2 separate regions of the Homo sapiens genome follow, and region 2 is linked to region 1. Evidence: promoter capture Hi-C in human tissues and cell types (Jung and others, 2019). All regions are on one chromosome and are shown on one strand. Each heading gives the region's core, a stretch centred on a gene start or on the middle of the fragment in contact. The rest is flanking DNA. Distances are from core to core; before and after follow the strand shown.

What was found. Contacts are between HindIII fragments. The study calls those that stand out against the background at their distance.
Region 2: a contact is called between a fragment that was not itself captured here and the fragment with the promoter of SLC8A2 in region 1, in 14 of the 25 tissues and cell types used here (IMR-90 fibroblasts, aorta, bladder and 11 more).

The regions. Positions count from the first base shown.
Region 1 is chr19:47,468,547-47,474,013 of GRCh38, reverse strand. SLC8A2 (solute carrier family 8 member A2) reads left to right here and starts at 2,121. Exons shown (of 10, transcript NM_015063.3): 1 at 2,121-2,225. RefSeq lists a silencer at 4,348-4,642 and an enhancer at 5,071-5,467. The HindIII fragment of the contact is 16,110 bases long and covers 1-5,467 here.
Region 2 is chr19:47,655,144-47,660,610 of GRCh38, reverse strand. All of the region lies in intron 1 of BICRA (BRD4 interacting chromatin remodeling complex associated protein), which reads right to left. Among named protein-coding and RNA genes, the nearest start is that of BICRA, 49 kb to the right of the region's middle. The HindIII fragment of the contact is 3,259 bases long and covers 871-4,129 here.

The DNA.
Region 1 (5,467 bases), core at 872-3,371:
TGGGTCAGCAGGGTTGGGGGATGATCATTCCCTGGGCCGTATCCAGGCTGGGGGCAGGGGTTGGGCAGGACATCTGCTTCCTGGGGGTTCAGGGGAGAGGCAGACACCGTAGTCATTTTGGCCATCTGTCTACCTCCCGCTATGGAGGTCCACTCAGAAGTCTGACCACCAGCACTGACAGGGAAGACCCAGCCACCAGTTCTCTACCGAGCGTTTATGGGAGTTAGGAGCTCAGCAACTCCTGGCCACCCCTGTCTTCACCCTCTTTCCCAGAAGCCAGGCCCAGGCGTGGGAAGTTGGAGGAAGCCGGATCCTCTCCCTCCCCTGGCCAGCAGGCCTGACGGTGTCCAGCCAGGACTGGCAGTGGGCAGGACCGGTGGCACGAGCAAGGCCCCCTCCCTCCCACTGTCCGCCTCTAGAGAAGGAGCACTCCACACCGACTAACACGCCATCACCCCCTGTTGTGGGGGGGAGCAGGATTGGGGGTGGGTGTAGTGCTGGTGTGCCTTGCAGAGGTGTGTGCTTGCGTGGGGGTATGTGTGTGGGCCCATCGCAGGGTGCATGAGTTTGTGTCTTCAGGAGCCCAGGCCACCTGCCTGGCCCTTTGCAGTTCATTTCTTTCTTTTTTTTTTTTTTTTTTGGAGATGGAGTCTCACTCTGTCACCCAGGCTAGAGTGCGGTGGCATGATCTCAGCTCACTGCAGCCTCCACCTCCCAGGTTCAAGCGATTTCTCCTGCCTCAGCCTCCCAAGTAGCTGGGATTACAGGCGTGTGCCACCTGGCCTGGCTAATTTTTGTATTTTTAGAAGAGACAGGGTTTCGCCATGTTGGCCAGGCTGGTCTCCAACTCCTGACGTCAAGTGATCTGCTCGCCTCAGCCTCCTAAAGTGCTGGGATTACAGGCGTGAGCCACCGCACCCAGCCTGCAAGTCTCTTCTTGACCTGACCCGTCCTCAGCCTGGGGAATTGTGCGGTGCAGCAGTTAAGGGTGTAGAATCTGGAGCCATATTTACCACCTCATGCCTTGGTTTCCCTGTCTGTAAGTGAAGCTCATAATAGCATTTACCTAAATTTATAAAAAACATTAGAACATGCCAGGTGCGGTGGCTCTCACCTGTGCGGTGGCTCTCACCTGTAATCTCAGCGCTTTGGGAGGCCGAGGCAGAAGGATTGCTTAAGCCCGGGAGTTGGAGACTAGCCTAGGTAAAATAGTGAGACCCCGTCTCTTAAAAAAAATGAAGAGAAAAAAAGCCTGGCGTGGTGGTGGTGGGCACCTGTAGTCCCAGCTACTCGGGAGGCCAAGGCAGAAGGATCGCTTGAGCCCAGGAGTTGGAGACCAGCCTGGGTAACATGGTGAGATCCCATCTCCTAAAAAAAAAAAATGGAGGGAAAAAGCCTGGCGTGGTGGTGGCGGGCACCTGTAGTCCCAGCTACTCAGGAGGCTGAGGCAGGAGGATTGCTTGAGCCCAGGAGGTTGAGGCTGCAGTAAGCCAAGATCGTGCCACTGCACTCCAGCCTGGGTGACAGAGTGAGACCCTGTCTCAAATAATAATAATGTGCTGCCGATGCCAGGCACGTGGTCAGGGCTGCCTGTATGTATGGCAGCTGTTGTTATTCTTATTAATGGGTGTCTTTGTGGTTGTTTCTGGCCTCCTTTGTGAGGCTGTGCAGGCACAGTATGTGAATTTGGATCTGACTCCAGCTAAACATTCTTGCCCTCCCCCTAGTTCTGTAAGTCTGTAACTATTTGTAGCTGTTGGCCCTTGTATGGCTGGGAGACTGCGTGCGTGTGTGTGTGTGCGTGTGTGTGTGTGTGTGTTGGGGGGCGGGGGCTGCTTCTGAAACACACAGGAGCGCCCTCCGGTGCTGTCCCCTGCCTCTGGTGCTGAACCCGGAGGCTGGGGAGGAGGCTCGGGCTCCCTGCTCCCCCAGGCCCCTCCCCGGGCCTCCCCCCGCCTCCCGCACCGCCTTCCCTCTGCCCGCCTCCGCCTCCTCCCCCTCTCTCCGGCTCCTCCCCCTCCCTCGCTCCCTCGCCGCCTCCCCCTCCCCCGTGTCCCTCCCCTCTCCTCTTCTCCTCCCTCTATCCCCTCTCCCTCCCCTCCTCCCCGGCTCTCCCTCTCAGTCTCAGGCTTTTCTCTCTCTCAATCTCTCTCTCTCTTTCGGGCGGAGTCGCCCACCACTGCCAGCCCAGCGCTGGGGGGACCTGCTCCAGGCTGTAGCCGCAGGTAAGAGACCCCATTGGTGGGGAGGTGGGGGCGTGGGAAAAGGACGGGGTTACCCCAGGTGCGGAGTGGGGGCGGTTCGGGAAGCCTGGAGCTGGCTTCCCTGGGCTGGTTTATGGAGGTGGGGGGCTGCCTGGCCCAGCACGCGTACCTTCTGTGGGGTGGGAGTGCCACCAGCCGCCCCAACACCTTCAGTCCCTCCTGGTTCTCGGGCGGCTGGGGAGGGGGACCGCCTGGGTACTGGGGGGCGAGGACACCCCGCCCCCACCCCGTCTGGGGCACCCCCCCTCGCGCTCTCTACCTCTGCCCCCGCCTTCCTGTGTCTGGGTCTCATCTTTCTGTCTCTCCACATGTCTCAGGGGTCTCTGTCTAGCAGAGTCTGGCCGCCTCTGGGAGTCCCTGTCTCTCAGTCTCTCACTCCTGTCTCCCTCTCTCTGTGTCTCTGTGCCGGGGTCTGTTCGGAGTCTCTCTGGGGCTCTGTCTCTAAGTCCTGGGTTTCTCTCTCCTTTCCTCTTGCGCCATCTCTGTTTCTCTGTGTCTCTGTGTCTCTGCCTCTCTCCCTTGTCTCAGCTTTCCTGTGTCTCTCTCTGTCTCTGCTTTCTCTGTGTCTCTGTCTCTTCCCATGTCCGCATGTCTCTCTCTCTCTCTCTCTCTCTCCCTCCCTCCCCATCTCCCCCTCGTCTCCATCTCTGTCTCTGGATATCTCAGTCTCTGTTTCTCTCTCTCTTTCCTCTTCTCTGGCTCTCCCTGGGAGCCAGTGCACCCTCCTCCCACACACCTTTGTCTCCGCCCCTGGCAGGGGGGACCTGGAGGAATTAGACCCCCCCACCCGCAGAGTGGGCTCCCCCAGGCCTGGAGTCCTCTAAACTCCTCTCCCCACTTCAGCAGAGCTCCCCTGCTCTCTCCACTCCTCCCAGCCGGCACCCACCCCAGCTCTCCCCTGAGGACCGAGCCCACCTCCCCCTGCCTTGTTTCTGGCGTTCTGAGGCCGGTCCTTCTTGCAGTTTAACCGGTAGCCTCTGTAGTAGAGATGAGACCAGACCTCCCTTCAATCTAACCTCCCCAGTCTTCCTCGTGTAACTGGACCAGTCCTTCCTGCCGTCTCACTTCCATACCTCTTGCTGTTTGTCCAGCTCTTGATTCATTCATTCTTGTTGATAATTACTGAGCGCCTTTCCTGCTCTGGGCAAGCACTAGGTACTGAGTTAGACCGGGCCAGTCCTTCCTGCAGTCTCACTTCCATCCCTTTCCTGGTGTGCCAGCCTCACACTGTCTCAGTGGGGGGTGCTGAGAGGGCCCTGGCCAACACACTGTCTGCCTTCCTTGAGAGAAGGGGGCCCTGGAGAAGGTGGGCAAGAGAGTGAGTGATGGCGAAAAGGTACGAGGCTGTGCCTGTAGCCCTGGTGTGTGTGTGTGTGTGTGTGTGTGTGTGTGTGTGTGTGTATGATGTCTCCCTGGCTGCAGGTGAGGTCCCAGCCCTGTGTGACAGTGCCCACGGAGGGGGCTTCAGATGGCTTTAAAGAGCACTAGGTTAAGAGCCCTGTTCCTCCTCTGGGCCTCAGTTTACGTATTATCAGTGTATCACAGCCTCGAGCACCCAAGCTCTGTGGTGTGATCCCCACACTGGACCATTTTGAGGTGATGGGAGCGCCTGCGCTCATGCTGGGGCAGTAAATGTGCATGTTTAGAAGTCTGAGTCCCCAGCTCGGTCCTGCAAGGGCCAGCCCCCCAACACAGGCACAGTCAGAAAAGCACCCTCCCTTGCCGCCCCACTGTGGGGTGGTAGCGTGAGGGATATGAAGGACGGGTCTTACCTGGCACGCCAGACTGCACCCACCCCCAGGCATGCAGTCCTGTTCTTCTGATCAAGGACCTAAGAGGCACGTGAGGCAGAACAGGGGTGCTCACTGCCGACCCAGCTGGCCGCACGCCCACGAAGGGAGGGAGAGATGGCCCTGGGAGACGGTACCTGCCATCTGCCCTCCCCGCTCCCACCCTGGGCTCCACCTGATCCTTTTGCCCCTGGATTCTAAAAGCAGATTGGGTTTCAGGGCTGCTGGTGGATGGAGAGGGAGAGGCAGGAGCCAGGAGCAGAGGGAGCCCACGGTCCCTGGTGACAGGGCTCAGACCTCTTGGTCATTCATTTCACAAATATTTATCTAGTGCTTTCTCTCCCTGACTGCTCCTCTCGCAAGGCCCCAGCGAGAAACCAGGTTTTGCAGGAAAAAGGGATTGCACTAGGCTGTGCTTGACCCAGCCCCTGGGCTAGGAGGGTGGACATGAGAACCCGCATCACCTGGCTGTGGTCTCTCTTGAGGACTGCAGCAGGAAGGACAGGTGGTTAAACCTGAGGGAGGACTTCCCAGGCCGAGGCTTCCTCCCAGAGAGAGCGGGGTTTGGTTTGATGCTTTAGAAGAATTCCTGACTCCCGGCTGGCCCCTGTTTCTCCTGAAAGCCAGGGAGGCGGAGGGAGAAGGGAGCATGAGCCTTTGCTTTGGATCCTGGTGGGTTTGTAATTATGCCTAAGTTGTTGCTAATTAGGGGGCTGCTAATTAGACGTATCATTAGGGGCCTTGCTGAGGGGGCTAATTGTGCGGTGGCCCTTTAAGAATCACCCCTCTCCCCCACCCTTGCCTGCACACACACACACACACACACACACACACACACACGCACACAGGCATGCTCCTCGCTTGCTCTCTCCTTCTTGGGAAGTTCTGCCAACACGCTGCCTCCCTCCCCCAGAGGAGCCAGCTCCCAGCCCATGGGTATGTAGGTGTGAGTTGGGGACAGGCTGTGGGTTAGACTCTCAGAAGAACTTTTCAAGCAAATGGAAGCCCCTGGAAGAAATGAGGCTGGTGGCAGAGGGGTCTGGGAGGGTGGAGGTTCCCAGGACACCTCTCTTCCTCTCTCCTTCTCTTTTTGATAAGCCACTGGGTTACCATGGCAACATGAGGGTGGGGCGGAGGAGCTCAGAGTCAGGGCCACTCTTGGAGAGGCGACCTGGGAGCCAGAGTTGGTGCTGGATGATGTGGGCAAGTTCCGTAACCTCTCTGCGCCTTGGTCCTCTCACCTGTGGAATGGAGGGGTGCTCCCCAGAGGGGGAGGGTGTCATTTTGGATGGGGTGTTTGGGGAAGCTGACATCAGAGTGGAAACCTGAAAGGGCAGAGAGAGCAAGGCTAGCGGATATGAGGGGAAGAGTGGGCGGGGCACGGTGGCACGCACCTGTGATCCCAGCACTTTG
Region 2 (5,467 bases), core at 1,251-3,750, 190 kb before region 1:
GTGAACCTTGGTCAGACAGACAAATGAGGTGATGTGTTCACCTGGTACGTGGACTTAACATGCTATGACGCCTAGAAGTTAAGCTCTTAGGATGTATTTCCAAGGCCTTTGTAGTGAGTTGAATGGTGGCTCCCACCACAAAAAATATGTAAACATCCCAGAACCTGTGGATGTGGCCATCCTTATTTGGAAAAAAGGGTCTTTGTAGACATAATTAGATTAACAATGTTGAGATGAGACTGTCCTGGATTATCTGGGTAGGCTCAAAATCCTATGATAAATGTCCTCTTAACAGCAAAGGAGAAGTCACAGAAGAACAGAAGGCCATGTGAAGAAGGAGGCAAAGCTTAATGTCACGTGGCTACGAGCCAAGGACCACCTAGAGCTCCGGGGGCTGGACCAGGCGAAGAAGGCTCTAGGCTCTTCCCTAGAGCCTCCTGAGGGAGCACAGCTCTGACAACCCCAGTGGCCCTGCTAACACCCTCATTTTGGACTTAGGGCCTCTGGAACTATACGAGAATAGTTTTCTGTTTTAAGATCCTGCATCTGTGGTATTTGTTACAGCGACAATGGGAAACTAATGTACATGTAAGTTTCTAAGACAGAGACGCATACAATACGTACAGAGTATAGAAGATATATATGTAGCCTGGGCAACACAGTGAGACCCCATCTCTACAAAAAATTTTACAAATTAGCCAGGTATGCTAGTGTGCACCTGTGGTCCCAGCTACTTGGGAAGCTGAGGTGTGAGGATTGCTTGAGCCTGGGAGGCTAAGGCTGTGGTGAGCCAAGATCATGCCACTGCACCACAGCCTGGGTGACAGAGGGAGACCCTGTCTCAAAAAAGAAAAAGAAAGAGAGAAGAGAAGAGAACGTGTGTGTGTGTGTGTGTGTGTGTGTGTGTGTGTGTGTGTGTGTGTGTATGCACCACCATGTACAGCTGCACAGGTTGTTCACTGCACAAAGGAATCCAGACAAAGGGGCAAGTGGGGCATCAAATCCAGTCCAGGTTCTGCTCACACCTATGAGCCCCAGAGAAGGGTGGCATCCACATGGAGAAAGGAGTCCCCTTTCCCAATTCATACAAAGGACACACCACAGAGTCATGCCCTCTCGGACAAAGCACCATTTTCAATTGCATGAAAAAGCCCCGTAAGAGCTGGCTGGGCCCTGGATATGTAGCCGCTTGCATGATGTGTCTATTTTAAAGCTAGAAAAGGAAAACAGGGAAAAAAATGTTGATTCTTCACCCACCTCCACCCCTGTTGGGAAAGACAGAGAAAGAGCAATTTGAAGAGCAATTAAAATCTACACCATCTTTATTTTTAGTGACCTTTAGATCTCTAAAATCATTGAATTAGTTTAACCAAATAAAGTGGGCCCCATAAAGCTTAGATTGCTCATAAAGCGACTGATGTCTGGCTCTTAAAAGCCTATTTTATACAGGTAGTTACAAACTAGAAATGTTTTATGCATCTTCTCTTTTCCCTTTTCACCATTCGACGCTGTTCTAAATACAGCTATAAAGCTGCAGTCTTGCCAAGAAAACCAGGTATCTCAAAAGGGTTTGGATTTTTCTCAATGCTGGCTTATGAGAAACAGGAAAAACCCTGGGAGAGGGTAAAGTACAGGCATTCGGGGTGGGTGGCGGAAATACAAAAGAAATGATTATGTTCACCGGACACAGGGACTCACACGTCATCAGGCAACGAAGCAGGCTTCGAATTCAGGGGAAAAAAATGCAGCTAAGGGAAGCAAAGGGGAAAACAAACGTTCCCCAAGACGTGCGCACGGGTTTGTAGACCACTGGTTCCTAATACAGATTTGAGAATCTGGGAATCGGCAGGTCCCGGTGCGGCCTGAGACTCTGCATTTCTAATGAGTTCCCAGGTGATGCTGATGCTGCTGGCACAGACCACACTCTGCGAACCACTGTTCTAGAAGCTGCTGCTGCTTTTTTTTTTTTTTTTTTTTTTGAGACGAAGTCTCATTCTGTCACCCAGGCTGGAGCGCAGTGGCATGATTTCAGCTCACTGCAAACTCTGCCTCCCCGGTTCAAGCAATCCTCCCGCCTTAGCCTCAGGAGTAACTGGGATTATAGGCACTCGCCACCACGCCTGGCGAACTCCTGACCTCAAGTCATCTGCCCACCTCAGCCTCCCAAAGTGTTGGGATTACAGGCATGAGCCACCATGCCCGGCCTAGAAGCTTCTGTCTCTTTAGTTTTCCTTCTGGGGTTCTTGTTCTTGTATCAAACACAAGCCACCAGTTCCTGGTCAAGGTCCAGGCCCCTGACCAAGTGGTCCCACCGAGTCTTCTCTGAGGCTCAGGAAGGCTAATTTAGAAGTTGCCCAGGGTCTGACAAACACTTCCAGCCCCAACATCCTGGTCAACAGAGGACAGACCATAGTGAGTGCAGACCCCTGCTCCTTGGCCAGAAACTTTCTTCCTCAGACTCCCTTGCAGCTCAGAATGGATATGGGAAAGTTTTCACATTTGGCTAAAGAGGCAGAATCTTGTCTTGGGAAGACTGTTTGCTCCCTCTCCTTTTTGCTTGAAAGACTGCTATGAATATAATGACAATGACTGGTGCCGCAGCAGCCATTATGCATTCCTGAGGGGAAGGTCAAGAGAATCAGAGGTTCCCTAGCAAAACAGACTCAGGGAAAAAAAAAACGAGAGAGAGAGAGTATAAGAGGGACACTGACCTACTGGCCTGACAATCCTCAGCTGCCAAACATCCCTGGAATGGCCTTCTCCTAGACATCTTGTCCCAGAAGAGAATTAAAGCCTGGATTAAGTAAAGTTAAATATATACCAACTCTATGACCCAACAATGTCACGCCAAGGTATTTACTCAAGGGAGGTGAAAAGTATGTCCACAAAAGCACCTGTACAAAAATTTTCACAGCAGCCGGGCATGGTGGCTCATGCCTGTAATCCCAGCACTTTGGGAGGCCGAGGTGGGCGGATCACAAGGTCAGGAGATCGAGACCATCCTGGCTAACACAGTGAAACTCCGTCTTTACTAAAAATACAAAATATTAGCCGGGAGTGGTGGTGGGTACCTGTAGTCCCAGCTACTTGGGAGGCTGAGGCAGGAGAATGCCATGAACCTGTGAGGCGGAGCTTGCAGTGAGCCGAAATCATGCCACTGCACTCCAGCCTGGGCGACAGAGCAAGACTCCGTCTCAAAAAAAAAAAAAAATTTCACAGCAGCCTTATTCATAAAAGCCCCTAACTGTAAATGGCACAGAAAGCCATCAACAGGTAAATGAATACACTGTTACATCCACACGACAGAATACAGTTTGGCAGTAAAAGGGAATGAAGGACTTCTACAGCAACAATACAAATGGGTCTTAAATGGATCATGCTGAGCAAAGGAAGCCTGGCACAAAAGTCTACACACTGTGTGAGTCCATTTGTGTAAAGATCTAGAACATGGGCCCGGCGCAGTGGCTCACGCCTGTAATCCCAGCACTTTGGGAGGCCAAGGCAGGCAGATCACTAGGTTGGGAGATCGAGACCATCCTGGCTAACACAGTGAAACCCTGTCTCTACTAAAAATACAAAAAATTAGCTGGGCGTGGTGGTGGGCACCTGTAGTCCCAGCTACTCGGGAGGCTGAGGCAGGAGAATTTCTTGAACCCGGGAGGTGGAGGTTGCAGTGAGCCGAGATCGCCACACTGCACTCCAGCCTGGGCGACAGAGCAAGACTCCATCTTAAAAAAAAAACCAAACAAATCTACAATATCCAGAACTGATTTATAGTGGGGGAAAAATATCAGACGTGTGGCCGCTTCAAGGGAGGGATGCAGGAATGACTGGGAAAGGCTATAAGGGAGCCTGCTCAGATGATGGACGTGTTCTCTAGCTAGAGCTGAGTGATGCTTACACAGGTAATATTTGTCAGAAAACATCAAGCTGCGCGCTTCAGTTTTGTGCATTTTACTGCACATAAATTAGAACCCAGTAAAGCACCCCTAGCATGTAGAAAAAAAACCCCTGTGCAATTGATCGTTATTCCAGGTGGCTGTGTTCTATATATTACAGAATCTAAAAAGTGACTGTGAACATTGGATTAGCAAATACTTAGACATTAACCATGTCTCCTGGGGGAAATACAAAGTTAGGTTCCTGAAAGCCTCTGGCCACAATGCTTTCACCAACCAATATAAAACCTTGGCTTATGTGTGTTTCTGTTCGAAGACACCTTATTTAATGTATAGTTTTGATTCATTAACACTGAGCCTCACGTCAGCAGCACCCTAACTTGTGCCTGAATGCAGTTTCTCTAATACGTGTATTTTCTCTGAAAGGCACGTCACAGCCTTCTCGTTGTTTTTTTGAGACAGGGTCTCACTGTTGCCCAGGCTGGGGTGCAGTGGTGTGAAAAGAACTCATGGCAGCCTTGACCTTCCAGGCTCATGTGGTCCTCCTTAGGTGTGCGCCATCACGCTTGGCTAATTCTAAAATTTACTTATTTATTCAGAGTGTGTGTGTGTGTGTGTGTGTGTGTGTGTGTGTGTGTGTGTCGAGACAGGATCTCACCATGTTCCCCAGGCTGGTCTCGACCTCCTGGGTTCAAGCGATTCTCCCACCTTGGCCTCCCAAAGTGCTGGGGTTACAGGCGTGAGCTACCATGCCCAGCCTCACATTATAGCTTTCTTGAGCTTAGAAACATTAGACGGCACTTCAGCACTAAACTGGGGACGTTTTTATTTTTATTTTTATTTTTATTTTTTTTTTGAGATGGAGTCTCGCTCTGTCACCCAGACTGGAGTGCAGTGCAGCGATCTCGGCTCACTGCAACCTCCACCTCCCAGGTTCAAGGGATTCTCCTGCCTCAGCCTCCCGAGTAGCTGGGATTACAGGTGCCCGCCACCAAGCCCAGCTCATTTTTTTTGTATTTTTAGTAGAGATGGGGTTTCACCGTGTTGGCCAGGCTGGTCTCGAACTCCTGACCTCAGGTGATTCACCCGCCTCAGCCTCCCAAAGTGCTGGGATTACAGGCATGAGCCACTGCACCTGTCCTAAACCGGGGACATTTTACTAATTTTTTTTTTTTTTTTTTTTTTTGAGACAGAGTTTTGCTCTTGTTGCCCAGGCTGGAGTACAGTGGTGTGATCTTTGCTCACTGCAACCTCCACCTCCCAGGTTCAAGCGAATCTCCTGCCTCCACCTCCCAAGTATCTGGAACTAAAGGCATGCACCACCACGCCCGGCTAATTTTGTATTTTTAGTAGACCCAGGGTTTCACCATGTTGGCCAGGCTGGTCTCGAACTCCTGATCTCAGGTGATCCACCTGCTTCGGCCTCCCAAAGTGCTGGGATTACAGGTGAGAGCCACCACGCCTGGCCAAACTGGGGACATTTTAAACAGCAAAATCACAAAGCACAAAAATATAGAAAACATGGCACTAACTAGACCACAAAAAGGACACTTGTTTATAGTAAGAGA